2 separate regions of the Homo sapiens genome follow, and region 1 is linked to region 2. Evidence: promoter capture Hi-C in human tissues and cell types (Jung and others, 2019). All regions are on one chromosome and are shown on one strand. Each heading gives the region's core, a stretch centred on a gene start or on the middle of the fragment in contact. The rest is flanking DNA. Distances are from core to core; before and after follow the strand shown. Region 1 holds the start of PNRC2 (proline rich nuclear receptor coactivator 2). Region 2 holds the start of RPL11 (ribosomal protein L11).

Region 1 (5,728 bases), core at 2,867-5,366, 270 kb after region 2:
GTATAGTGGTGTGATCATGGCTCACTGCAGTCTCGACATCCTGGGCTCAAGGAATTCTCCCACTTCCGCCTCTCAAGTAGCTGGGACCACAGGGGCACACCACCTCCCACTCCCAGCTAATTTCTGTAATTTTTGTAGAGATGGGGTTTCACCATGTTGCCCAGGCTGGTCCTGAACTCCTGGGCTCAAGTGATCCTCCCGCCTCTGCCTCCCAAAGTGTTGGAATTACAGGTGTATTCTAAATCTACATCATAAAAGTGCTTTTACATTTATTATTTCATTGGCTCCTACCATGAGCTCTACAAGACAGGGAGGATTGCCATTCTACAGATGAAGAAACTGAGACTCAGCCTGAAGGCCAGTCGATTCTACTATATACTTATTCCAAAGCCATGGCAAACCTGGGTGATTTCTCCAACTACCCCGGCACTGGTGCAGTTGTATGCCTCAGCCTACAACCTGTCTCTCCCCCAAAGCTGGGCTTTCAGAAACACTTTCTTTTTTTTTTTTTTGAGACAGAGTTCTGCTGTTGTTGCCCAAACTGGAGTGCAATGGCGCGATCTCGGCTCACTGCAACCTCTGCCTCCCGGGGTCAAGCGATTCTCCTGCCTCAGCCTCCCAAGTAGCTGGGATTACAGGCATGCGCCACACGTCCAGCTAATTTTTTGTATTTTTAGTAGAAACAGTGTTTCACCAAGTTAGCCAGGCTGGTCTCGAACTCCTGACCTCACGTGATCTGCCCACCTCGGCCTCCCAAAGTGTTGGGACTACAGGCGTGAGCCACTGTGCCCGGCCCAGAAACACTTGCTTTTTGCTCCACCTCTACTTACAGATTAGGTAGATAATGTTTTCCTAATGATTTCATTGATTTTGGTTGCCACTGATACATAGCTCAAAACAGATCCTCCAGTGAAAAAATTTCAGCAAGTTGTGAGAGTCCCCCTCCTTTTCTACTTTATTTGCAGGGTCCAGTAACAATGTTTGTTACCTGCACCTCCTGAGTGAGGTTAGCAGGCTGATTTTGGCCTTGCCTGTCCTTGACTCTCAGGGGAAGAAGGGAGGGAATAAATCTTCCCAGACACTAGTTTCCCTCTCTGGTAAATTGTAAAGGAAACAGCTTTTGGGTTCCTTTAGGGCCAGGATGGAGCCTCCTTCACTGCTGTATCCCCAGAGCGTGGCATAGTGCCTGGCACAAAGTAGGCACCAGATAAATCTTTGCTAAATATTTTGTATTAAACATCCATGTATTTATTATGCATTTGGCTTCCAGTTTAGGTGAGCTGTATCCTGAGAGCTGTTTGTCGGCATCAACATTTTCCTATTTGAATTGAGAACTGCTAATAGGATTGTGCTGGTGGAGCTGAGTTTAAAGACCATATGGTTCTGGCAGAGGCTGTATCAGATGTCCCAAAAAAGGTATTATTTTAACTTCTCCTCTCTAGTTCTGAGCTGTTGCGGGCACTTGGTAAATACTAATGAATGATGAGGCTGGAGCTAGCCTGAGAGGGTGCTGGGAGTCTGGGACGCAGTAAAAGCTTTAACAGTGCTTTCCCCAAGGGCATCTCGACTCTGACCTTCTGGCAAAGAAACTGGTTCTGCCAGATGGTAGGATGGAGGCTTCTTGTTGCCCGAACAGCCCCGGCAGCCCAGTCAACAGTCAGTGTCTGCTCTGAGCAAAAAACCTTTTAGGTGCTGGAGAGCACAGATGCTGCAGGCAACCTGCAGCCTGGCCTCTTGAATCCTAGTACCTGGCTTTCAACTCGAAACCGTCTGAGCCTTCATCTGTACAGTGCGGATGAAAACAGCTCCTACCTCACAACATTATTGTGAGGATTAAATGAAATGATGTAAGAAAAAAAAATTTAGCACAGGGTAGGGGGCAGAGTAAGGATACTCTGTGTGGGTTTATACATTTCCAATGTTATGTGTGCGTTTATGCAGATAAAATTCAGAGTGGCTGAAGAGATGAATTTTTTTTTTTTTTTTTTGAGACAGTGTCTTACTCTCACCCAGGAGTGCAGTGTTGTGATCGCAGCTCACTGCAGCCTCTACTTCCTGGGCTCGGGTGATTCTCCCACCTTAGTCTCTCAGGTAGCTGGGACTACAGGCGTGTGCCACCATGCCCAGCTAATTGTTATTTGTAGAGATGGGGTTTTGCCATGTTGCCCAGGCTGGTCTCAAACTCCCGCGCTCAAGTGATCCTCCTGCCTCGGCCTCCCAAATTGCTGAGATTACAGGTGTGAGCCATGCCCTGCCATGAAAAGACTAACTCTAGACTGCAATGGCTTTGAATAATTTTCTAAACGTTTAGAGTTTAGATTTTATTCCGTATCACAATTTGGAGCCACGGAAGTGTTTTTTTGTTTGTTTTTTGTTTTTTAAAGTGACACCATTAAAAATTCATTAAATACAGCTGGCTATTATCTGGCTAGACGTCTAAGCAAACTTCTTGAATGTTTGGAAAACAGATTACACTTTCACTAAGACACCTGTTGGTTTACCACATACTTCTTATTTGAATATGATTAGCATCAGAAAGTCCCTATGCTCAAAAATACCTCTTTTATCAAATTAGATTAACAAACTGCATCCCGTAAGATGCAGTAACTTTTCTTAAGATCCAATGGCTAGAATATAGGAATTTGGGTTGGATTGGGAAGTGGGGGATAACGGTGGCAAAAAATTGAAGATTAAAAAACGAAATACAGGCCGGGTGTGGTGGCTCACGCCTGTAATCCCAGCACTTTGAGTGGCTGAGACGGGCGGATCACGTGAGGTTAGGAGTTTGAGACCAGCCTGGCCAACATGATGAAATCCTGTCTCTACTAAAAATACAAAAATTAGGAGGGTGTGGTGGCAGGCGCCTGTAATCCCAACTACTCAGGAGGCTGAGGCAGGAGAATCGCTTGAGCCCAGGAGGCGGAGGTTGCAGTGAGCCGAGATTGTGCCACTGCACTCCAGCCTGGGCGACAGAAGGAGACTCCGTCTCAAAAATAACGAATTACATGAGATTTATAAAAAGTTGGTAAATATAAATTCTGTAACGTAAACTTGGGTATATATGTGTATACACGAACAAACTGTGAATGAGACTGATTTTGTACCGTTTGGCCCAGAATTATTCACGCTCATTGAAATTAGTGCTCTTTTAAAAGATTCACATTGGGTTACTTATACATTTACTCCAAAGAAATTGCCATTTTCCCCTTACCTGCATCTGGCTGGCATAATCAACTGAACAATATTCTCTTTCTTCCCCTTTTTCACTTACAAGTGGGGCAGAAAGGGGAGGAGAGCAGTCCTCATTCTTTCAGCAAACTTACTGTGCACTTACAACGCGCGAAGGCGCTGTGCTCAGAGAAACAAAACCTAACCGGTTGTGGCCCTCGAGGGTGTGTGGGTGGGGAGAGCTGCAGCCACAGGAAACGGTAACACGGCGCGTAAAGGGCTCTAATTGAACTTAAGGACCAATGGGGCCACCAAGCAGGAAGTGACTGACTTGCCCGCGTGTGTCTGAACCGCCTTCACAGGGAGGCAACTTTTGAGTAATTGCGGGGCTGGAGGGTGGGGGCACTGGAGGGAACCGCGGGGAGGCGCCGGCTTCGGACGCGGAGTTGTGGGTGTGGGAGAGAGGCGACCCAGAAGCCGAGGCCCGAGGCGGGAGGGGGCTGCGCCCTGGCAAGAGGCTTTCCGGAGTATCTTCCATCTGTCAATACAGGCTACAGGACTCAGTGGCCCTAATTCGAGAACCAAACGTCCCCCGCCGGTCAGTCTTTTCCCCCAGGGCAGTCCCAAGGGCGGCGAGCCCGCGCGCACGAGAGCCGAGCGGTAGGAAGAGCCGAGAGCTAGCGGCCGGGGCCTCGGCGGGCCAGGGGCGCGGAGAGGCCGCCGGAGAAAGGACTAAGACACCGGTGGACCGAGCAGTTACTCCCGGCATGCTCCTCCTCCCCGGGCAGATTTCAAACCCTCTGCAGCCCCACCTCCGCGCCTTCGCCCCCGGCCAGCCCCAGCAACAGGCGGCGGCCCGCTTCTCATTGGCCAGGCCCGCGCTGTCGTGTTTTGATTGGCCGCGGAGCCTCCCGGCCCTGCTTCTGCAGTCGCTGCCGACTCCATTTTGTCGGTAGAGGCAGAAGGAGAAGGTCGGGTTGTAGAAGCTGGGGTGGCCGGCAGCTCGCTCATCGGTGTTCGTGGGCTTTGTCGGTCCGTGCCTCGTCTCTCCCTGGAAAGGGAGGGAGGCTTCGACGTCGAGAGGGAGCCGCTGCCGCGTTAGTTCCGAGCTTGAAGTCAGTAAGTAGCGGCTGCGCTAAGGGCGCGGCCATGTTGGTGGCCGCGCTCCCCATTGTTGGAGGAAGGAGGCGAGCGGAGGCGAGATCCGGGTAACCCGGGCGGGCGCGGGCGGTCACGGGCGGTCGCAGCGCCGCGACCCCTGCGGCTCCGGAGAGATGGGGCCACTGGGAAGCCAAGCCCTTGTGGCGTCGGAGGAGGCGTTTTCCGGGTTCGAGTTGGGAATTACTCACAGTCCGGAAATGGCAATTTATTTAGGGTTGTTTATCTGTTTGGAAAGCTCTCTTACCCCTTTGAAAGGAGGGGGCTTAACTATTTGGTAACTTATTTTCTTGGAACATCAAATTAAAACCAAACCTTGAAAGTTAAGCTGTTCCCTCTAGGGAGACATTTTTATATATTTAAGATGGGCTTAGACTGTTAGGGCTTGTGAGAACTTATTTTAAGACGGGGAGGAGGCGAGAGCGTTCATAACCAAAGGAAACACTGCGTGATGTCTACATGTTCCAAGAGACTGAAAATGGATGTGACATGTGTGGAAAGATTGGAAAATTCTGGTGGGAGTTTAAAAACACGGTCTCTTTAGAAAATCCGCCTGAAGCCAATTTTTTGATATGACTCAACATTTAACACTTCCTTGATTTTATACGCGAGAGAATCTGAAGGTCTTTCCCAGGAAAAAGATAAAGATAAAACTTATTGCGGGACTTGGAGACACTTACAAAAATTCCCCAGGAGTGACTGGATCTCAAGGGTGAAGAGTTTTTTTAAATGGTCGTGGTTATAAGGTCAAAGAAAGCCATCTTACGAGAAATTTTCTACCTTTTAGTTCAGGAAGTAGCCTTCTTTACAGTCAACGATTTTCGTAGTAAATCTAAATGATCACTTTCTCAACGTGTTTTTGAAATAATGAAGTAATCTTTACTTTTCTAGCTAGGACTTCTCTCAAACTTGTGTGCTGAGGAGACTCAGATGTTGGCCTCAGCTCCTAGGCTGAACTCAGCAGATCGGCCCATGAAAACTTCTGTATTGAGACAAAGGAAGGGATCTGTCAGAAAGCAACACTTGTTATCTTGGGCTTGGCAGCAAGGAAGAGGACAGGTAGTGGAGATCCTGCAATCTGAAAAGCAGACTGAAAGGTAATCATCATAATGGGCAAACATTTTATGATGGAACCATCCTAAACCAATTGTTTTTATTTTAAAATAGATTATGTAGATTTGTGGGTAAGCTCATTTTTCTTAGGGAAGGTATAACAATAAAGGTTGTGCATATATTGAAGTCTGAACGGCTTGCTTTTTTGAGTTTAAAGCAGCTGAATAGCCTGTTATTGAGTCTTGTCCAAAATATCTGGAGTTATAAGTTGGAGCCATAGAAGCTTCTTAAAGATTTTGAACTTTTCTTAATGGAATTTTACTCAATATTTGTTTCCATTCACTTGTAG
Region 2 (5,721 bases), core at 3,078-5,577:
CAGGAGGTGGAGGTTGCAGTGAGCCGAGATGGAGCCACTGCACTCCAGCCTGGGCAACAGAGTGAGATTCTGTCTCAAAAAAAAAAAAAAGAAAAGAAAAAAAAAAGAGAAAATGCATGATGAGCTTATTGAGGGGCAAGAGCAGAATGCATTCATAACAAAATCATGTCTAAGACAAAAACCATTGGTAATGAAGCAGATGAAGCCTGGTGTGGCAGTTCATGCCTGTAATCCCAGCACTTTGGAAGGCAAAGGTGGGAGGATCGCTTGAGTCCAGGAGTTGGAGACCAGCCTGGGCAACATGGCAAGACCCCATCTCTACAAAAAATTTAAAAAATTAGCTGGGCATGGTAGTGTGCACCTGTGGTCCCAGCTACGTGGGAGGCTGAGGTGGGAGGATCATGTGAGCCCGGGAAGTCATGGCTGCAGTGAGCCAAGATCACACCACTGCACTCCAGCCTGGGCAACAGAGCAAGACCCTGCCACAAAACAAAACAAAAAACAAAAAACAAACAAAAAAAAATAGAAAAAAAAAAAAAAAGGCAGATGACTCTGGAGGAAACATTTTAAAAAGCCATCCAGGAGAATGCCTCCTTGTCCCTAGGGGACCCACTTCCTGCTCCCTCAACTGCTTCTGATGTTTCTTCTCACCTTAAAAAAAATACAGTGTAGTCCCCTCTCTCCTCTCCCTTCTCCCCTCTCCCCTCTCCCTCTCGGTCTCCCTCTCCCTCTCTTTCCACGGTCTCCCTCTGATGCCGAGCCGAGGCTGGACTGTACTGCTGCCATCTCGGCTCACTGCAGCCTCCCTGCCTGATTCTCCTGCCTCGGCCTGCCGAGTGCCTGCGGTTGCGGGCGCGCGCCGCCACGCCTGACTGGTTTTCATGCTTTTTTGGTGGAGACGGGGTTTCGCTGTGTTGGCCGGGCTGGTCTCCAGCTCCTGGCCGCGAGTGATCCGCCGGCCTCGGCCTCCCGGGGTGCCGGGATTGCAGACGGAGTCTGGTTCACTCGGTGCTCGGTGGTGCCCAGGCTGGAGTGCAGTGGCGTGATCTCGGCTCGCTACAGCCTCCATCTCCCAGCCGCCTGCCTTGGCCTCCCAGAGTGCCGAGATTGCAGCCTCTGCCCGGCCGCCACCCCGTCTGGGAGGTGGGGAGTGTCTCTGCCTGGCCGCCCATCGTCTGGGACGTGGGGAGCCCCTCTGCCTGGCTGCCCAGTCTGGAGAGTGAGGAGCGTCTCTGCCCGGCCGCCATCCCATCTGGGAAGTGAGGAGCGCCTCTTCCCGGCCGCCATCCCACCTGGGAGGTGAGGAGCGTCTCTGCCCGGCCGCCCATCGTCTGAGATGTGGGGAGCGCCTCTGCCCCGCCGCCCCGTCTGGGATGTGAGGAGCGCCTCTGCCCGGCCGCGACCCCGTCTGGGAGGTGAGGAGCGTCTCTGCCCAGCCGCCCCGTCTGAGAAGTGAGGAGACCCTCCGCCCAGCATCCGCCCCGTCTGCGAAGTGAGGAGCCCCTCCGCCCGGCAGCCGCCCCGTCTGAGAAGTGAGGAGCCCCTCTGCCCGGCAGCCACCCCGTCTGGGAAGTGAGGAGCGTCTCCGCCCGGCAGCCGCCCCGTCCGGGAGGGAGGTGGGGGGGTCAGCCCCCCGCCCAGCCAGCCGCCCCGTCCGGGAGGGAGGTGGGGGGGTCAGCCCCCCGTCCGGGAGGTGAGGGGCGCCTCTGCCCGGCCGCCCCTACTGGGAAGTGAGGAGCCCCTCTGCCCGGCCACCACCCCGTCTGGGAGGTGTACCCAACAGCTCATTGAGAACGGGCCGGGATGACAATGGCGGTTTTGTGGAATAGAAAGGGGGGAAAGGTGGGGAGAAGATTGAGAAATCGGATGGTTGCCGTGTCTGCGTAGAAAGACGTAGACATGGGAGACTTTTCATTTTGTTCTGTACTAAGATAAATTCTTCTGCCTTGGGATCCTGTTGATCGGTGACCTTACCCCCAACCCTGTGCTCTCTGAAACATGTGCTGTGTCCACTCAGGGTTAAATGGATTAAGGGCGGTGCAAGACGTGCTTTGCTAAACAGATGCTTGAAGGCAGCATGCTCGTTAAGAATCATCACCACTCCCTAATCTCAAGTACCCAGGGACACAAACACTGCGGAAGGCCGCAGGGTCCTCTGCCTAGGAAAACCAGAGACCTTTGTTCACTTGTTTATCTGCCGACCTTCCCTCCACTATTGTCCTATGACCCTGCCAAATCCCCCTCTGCGAGAAACATCCAAGAATGATCAATAAAAATTAAAAAAAAAAATACATTGTACAGTAATCTTTTAATCAAAACACTGCATCATAGGTGGAGACTGAAAGCCTGCCACTTGTGGTCGCTGTTTTTTGTTTGTTCGTTTGTTTGTTTTGAGACAGGGTCTTGCTCTATCACCCAGGCTGGAGTGCAGTGGTGTGATCTTGGCTCACTGCAAGCTTCTTCTCCTCGGTTCAAGCGATTCTCCTGCCTCAGCCTTCCGAGTAGCTCGGATTACAGGCATGCACCACCAGGCCCGGTTAATTTTTGTATTTTTAGTAGAGACGGGGTTTCACCCCGTTGGCCAGGCTGGTCTCGAACTCCTGACCTTAAGTGATCCACCCGCCTTAGCCTCCCAAAGCGCTGGGATTACAAGTGTGAGCCACAGCACCTGGCCTGGTTGGCGGGGCCGGGGTCGGGTGTGGTGGTGGGGGGAGGGGGGGTGGGTCGCTGTTGTTTCACAGCTGATCCAGGTTTTCTGGTGATGCTCCTCTGCTGCTTAGTTGCCCTGAACACATTACTTTTTCACTGTATTAATGACATAGCATATATTTTGCTGTTAAGAACTTATTTTTTATTTTTGAGACGGAGTCTCGCTCTGTCACCCAGGCTGGAGTGCAGTGGCGCGACCTCGGCTCACTGAAAGCTCCGCCTCCCAGGTTCACGCCATTCTCCTGCCTCAGCCTCCAGAGTAGCTGGGACTACAGGCGCCCGCCACCACGCCCGGCTAATTTTTTTTTTTTTTTTTTTTTGTATTTTTAGTAGAGACGGAGTTTCACCGTGTTAGCCAGGATGGTCTCGATTTCCTGACCTCGCGATCCGCCCGTCTCGGTCTCCCAAAGTGCTGGGATTACAGGCGTGAGCCACCGCGCCCGGCCGCTGTTAAGTACTTATATGTGAATAAGCGTAAGAAAGTATTGCTTATCAATAGCATATACATTTACAGTCTGGAAAAATGGTTAGGCCAACCAACCAGAGATTGTCCACAAGGGTGGCTGAGATAGTGACACCTTTGCTTTCTGATGGTTCAATGTACACAAACTTTGTTTCATGCACAAACTTACTTAAAATATTGTATAAAATTACCTTCAGACTATGTGTATAAGGTGTATATGGAACATAAATTAATTTCATATTCAGACTTGGGTTCCATCCCCAAGATATCTCATTATGTTTATGCGAATATTCCATAATCCGGAAAAATCCCAAATCTAAAAACCGTCTGGTCCCAGGCTTTTCAGGTTAGGAATACGCACCCTGTAGTAACTTGCCCAAGGTCACATAGCTACTAGCTGGTCGAGACAGGACCACATCTGCCTGTCTTCAAGCTCGGGACTCTTAAACCACCACTCCTTTCCGTTTGTATAAATTCTATTTGTGCCCGGAGTGGTGGCTCACGCCTGTAATCCCAGCACTTTGGGAGGCCAAGGCGGGTGGATCATTTGAGGTCAGGAGTTCCATACCAGCCCGACCAACATGGTGAAACCCCATCTCTACTAAAAATACAAACAAATTAGACCGGTATGGTGGTGCGTGCCTGTAATCCCAGCTACTTGGGAGGCTGAGGCAGGAGAATCGCTTGAACCCGGGAGGCGGAGGTTGCAGTGAGCCGATATCGCGCCACTGCACTTCAACCTGGGTGACACAGCGAGGCTCCGTCTCAAAAAATAAATAAATAAATAAATTATATTTGTTTACGTTGTTACAGAATAAATTTGCGTCATAATTTGCATGATTGATTTAATGTAGTTTTGGCGTTCTCATCACACAAGGACCACCAGCTCGTGACACTGGGAGGAGAGAACGTCCTCAAGGTCCGGAAACTCAAGGACGTGCTGATTCGGGAGCTTTCAAAAACTATTTTTGGAAAACCCAGATCCCGGTCTTCAGCCAGCGTCGCCTGCAGTGGCTAGCACTACCCACAAGGGAGAAGCCGACGCTGCAGGGCTTTGCCAAATGCGCCTCTCTTCCTCGTCTTCATCTCTGTGGTTAGCCTGGGAAAAGAGCCCGCCTCCTGGCCCATAAGGCCCTCGGCCGGAAGCTCCGCTTTCTCTTCCTGCTCTCCATCATGGCGGTGAGTAGCTGGGACCTGGATTTGCTTTCCTTTATCCGTCGCCATCCATGGCAGGCCGAGCCTGCGGGGGCTACTTCGCCCGCAGCCCGAGGAATATGGAGCCCGCAATGCCTGCTGGCCCAAAACTAGCAGAGCCGTTCGAGCCAAGGACGCAGGGTTGAATTCTGTCACTTTCCCTGCCATCGTTTTAGGAGCGGCTCCGGGCACTTGCCCGGAGTGCTCAGAAGCACGGTCAGGAGGCTGCAGCGGGGGCAGATGGGGTGAATGGAGGGTTCTGAGGCAGGGGGGTCCGGGCCTTTTCCTGGTCCCGGGGACTTGAGACTTGCTCGGTGCTAGGAAACCTTAGTCGGTTGCTCCGCTTAGGGAAGGTGCCAGCCTTTAGACAGCTTCCGAATAGGATGCTGGACGTCGCATAACCACGTGTTTCCTGTTAACTGAGCAATTAAGTTCTGTTTCTTCGCTCACTCCCCTTAGTTGGCCTTACAATGGGGGCGCTCTTTGTTACCCTGAGCCTCTTAGGGTTCGATCTCAGTGTCCGTATCTTTTAACACTCAATAACTGTCCTGAGTTTTCTCTTCACCCGTTCCGTTCGTGGAGGAAGGATAGGTTCCGAGCTGTCTTCTTCCCTTGATGTCCCCTAAACATTATACCTTTTAAACATTCAGGGTCTTCGTTACGATTTGGGATGAGCAGAAATAAAAATGCTGTGCAGATAGAAAGTAGTAAAACTCAGGGCCCTCAGCTGTGAGTGTATTGACTGCTGCTCTTCCCTGTTGCAGCAGGATCAAGGTGAAAAGGAGAACCCCATGCGGGAACTTCGCATCCGCAAACTCTGTCTCAACATCTGTGTTGGGGAGAGTGGAGACAGACTGACGCGAGCAGCCAAGGTGTTGGAGCAGCTCACAGGGCAGACCCCTGTGTTTTCCAAAGGTGAGTAGTCACAAGGACATACAGGGTTTGCCTGCTTGGGTCGCTTGGTTGTTTCTTGATTTACCTGCTGTCGAGTCTGTTTAGAAAGTGACAGTCGGCATCACTTAAAGCATTAAATTCATGAGCCGGCCAAGAGGTGTCTTTTTTTTTTTTTTTTATTCAAGATGGCGTGTGGGATTGGAACACTAGATTTTATTTGAGCAGATCTTAAGCTAAGACTAGCCCAAGTAAAGATTTTCCTAAGTAACTAGGATATGAGATAGAGTGGAAATGTCAGGAACGAAGTAAAGATCATTAGATCTGATTAGCAGTTAGGGTTATATAGGCTGCATTAAGAACAGGGCTGTACGGGAGCATGAGGCTTCAGTGGCCTATATTAGTGCCACTGCACTCCAGCCTGGTTGACCCTATCTCAAAAGTTGTATACAGATTGCCTGGGT

What was found. Contacts are between HindIII fragments. The study calls those that stand out against the background at their distance.
Region 1: a contact is called between the fragment with the promoter of PNRC2 here and the fragment with the promoter of RPL11 in region 2, in 1 of the 25 tissues and cell types used here (pancreas).

Annotation. Positions count from the first base shown.
Region 1 is chr1:23,955,712-23,961,439 of GRCh38, forward strand. It overlaps PNRC2 (proline rich nuclear receptor coactivator 2), which reads left to right and starts at 4,117. Exons shown (of 3, transcript NM_017761.4): 1 at 4,117-4,287; 2 at 5,218-5,423. LOC124903877 (a long non-coding RNA gene) reads right to left here and starts at 2,403. Exons shown (of 4, transcript XR_007065541.1): 1 at 2,391-2,403; 2 at 805-807. RefSeq lists enhancers at 2,347-2,975, 3,154-3,213, 4,114-4,383 and silencers at 3,294-3,393, 3,804-3,913. The HindIII fragment of the contact is 7,308 bases long and covers 1-5,728 here.
Region 2 is chr1:23,687,479-23,693,199 of GRCh38, forward strand. RPL11 (ribosomal protein L11) reads left to right here and starts at 4,328. Exons shown (of 6, transcript NM_000975.5): 1 at 4,328-4,351; 2 at 5,131-5,281. The coding sequence starts at 4,346. RefSeq lists an enhancer at 4,290-4,609. The HindIII fragment of the contact is 10,512 bases long and covers 1-5,721 here.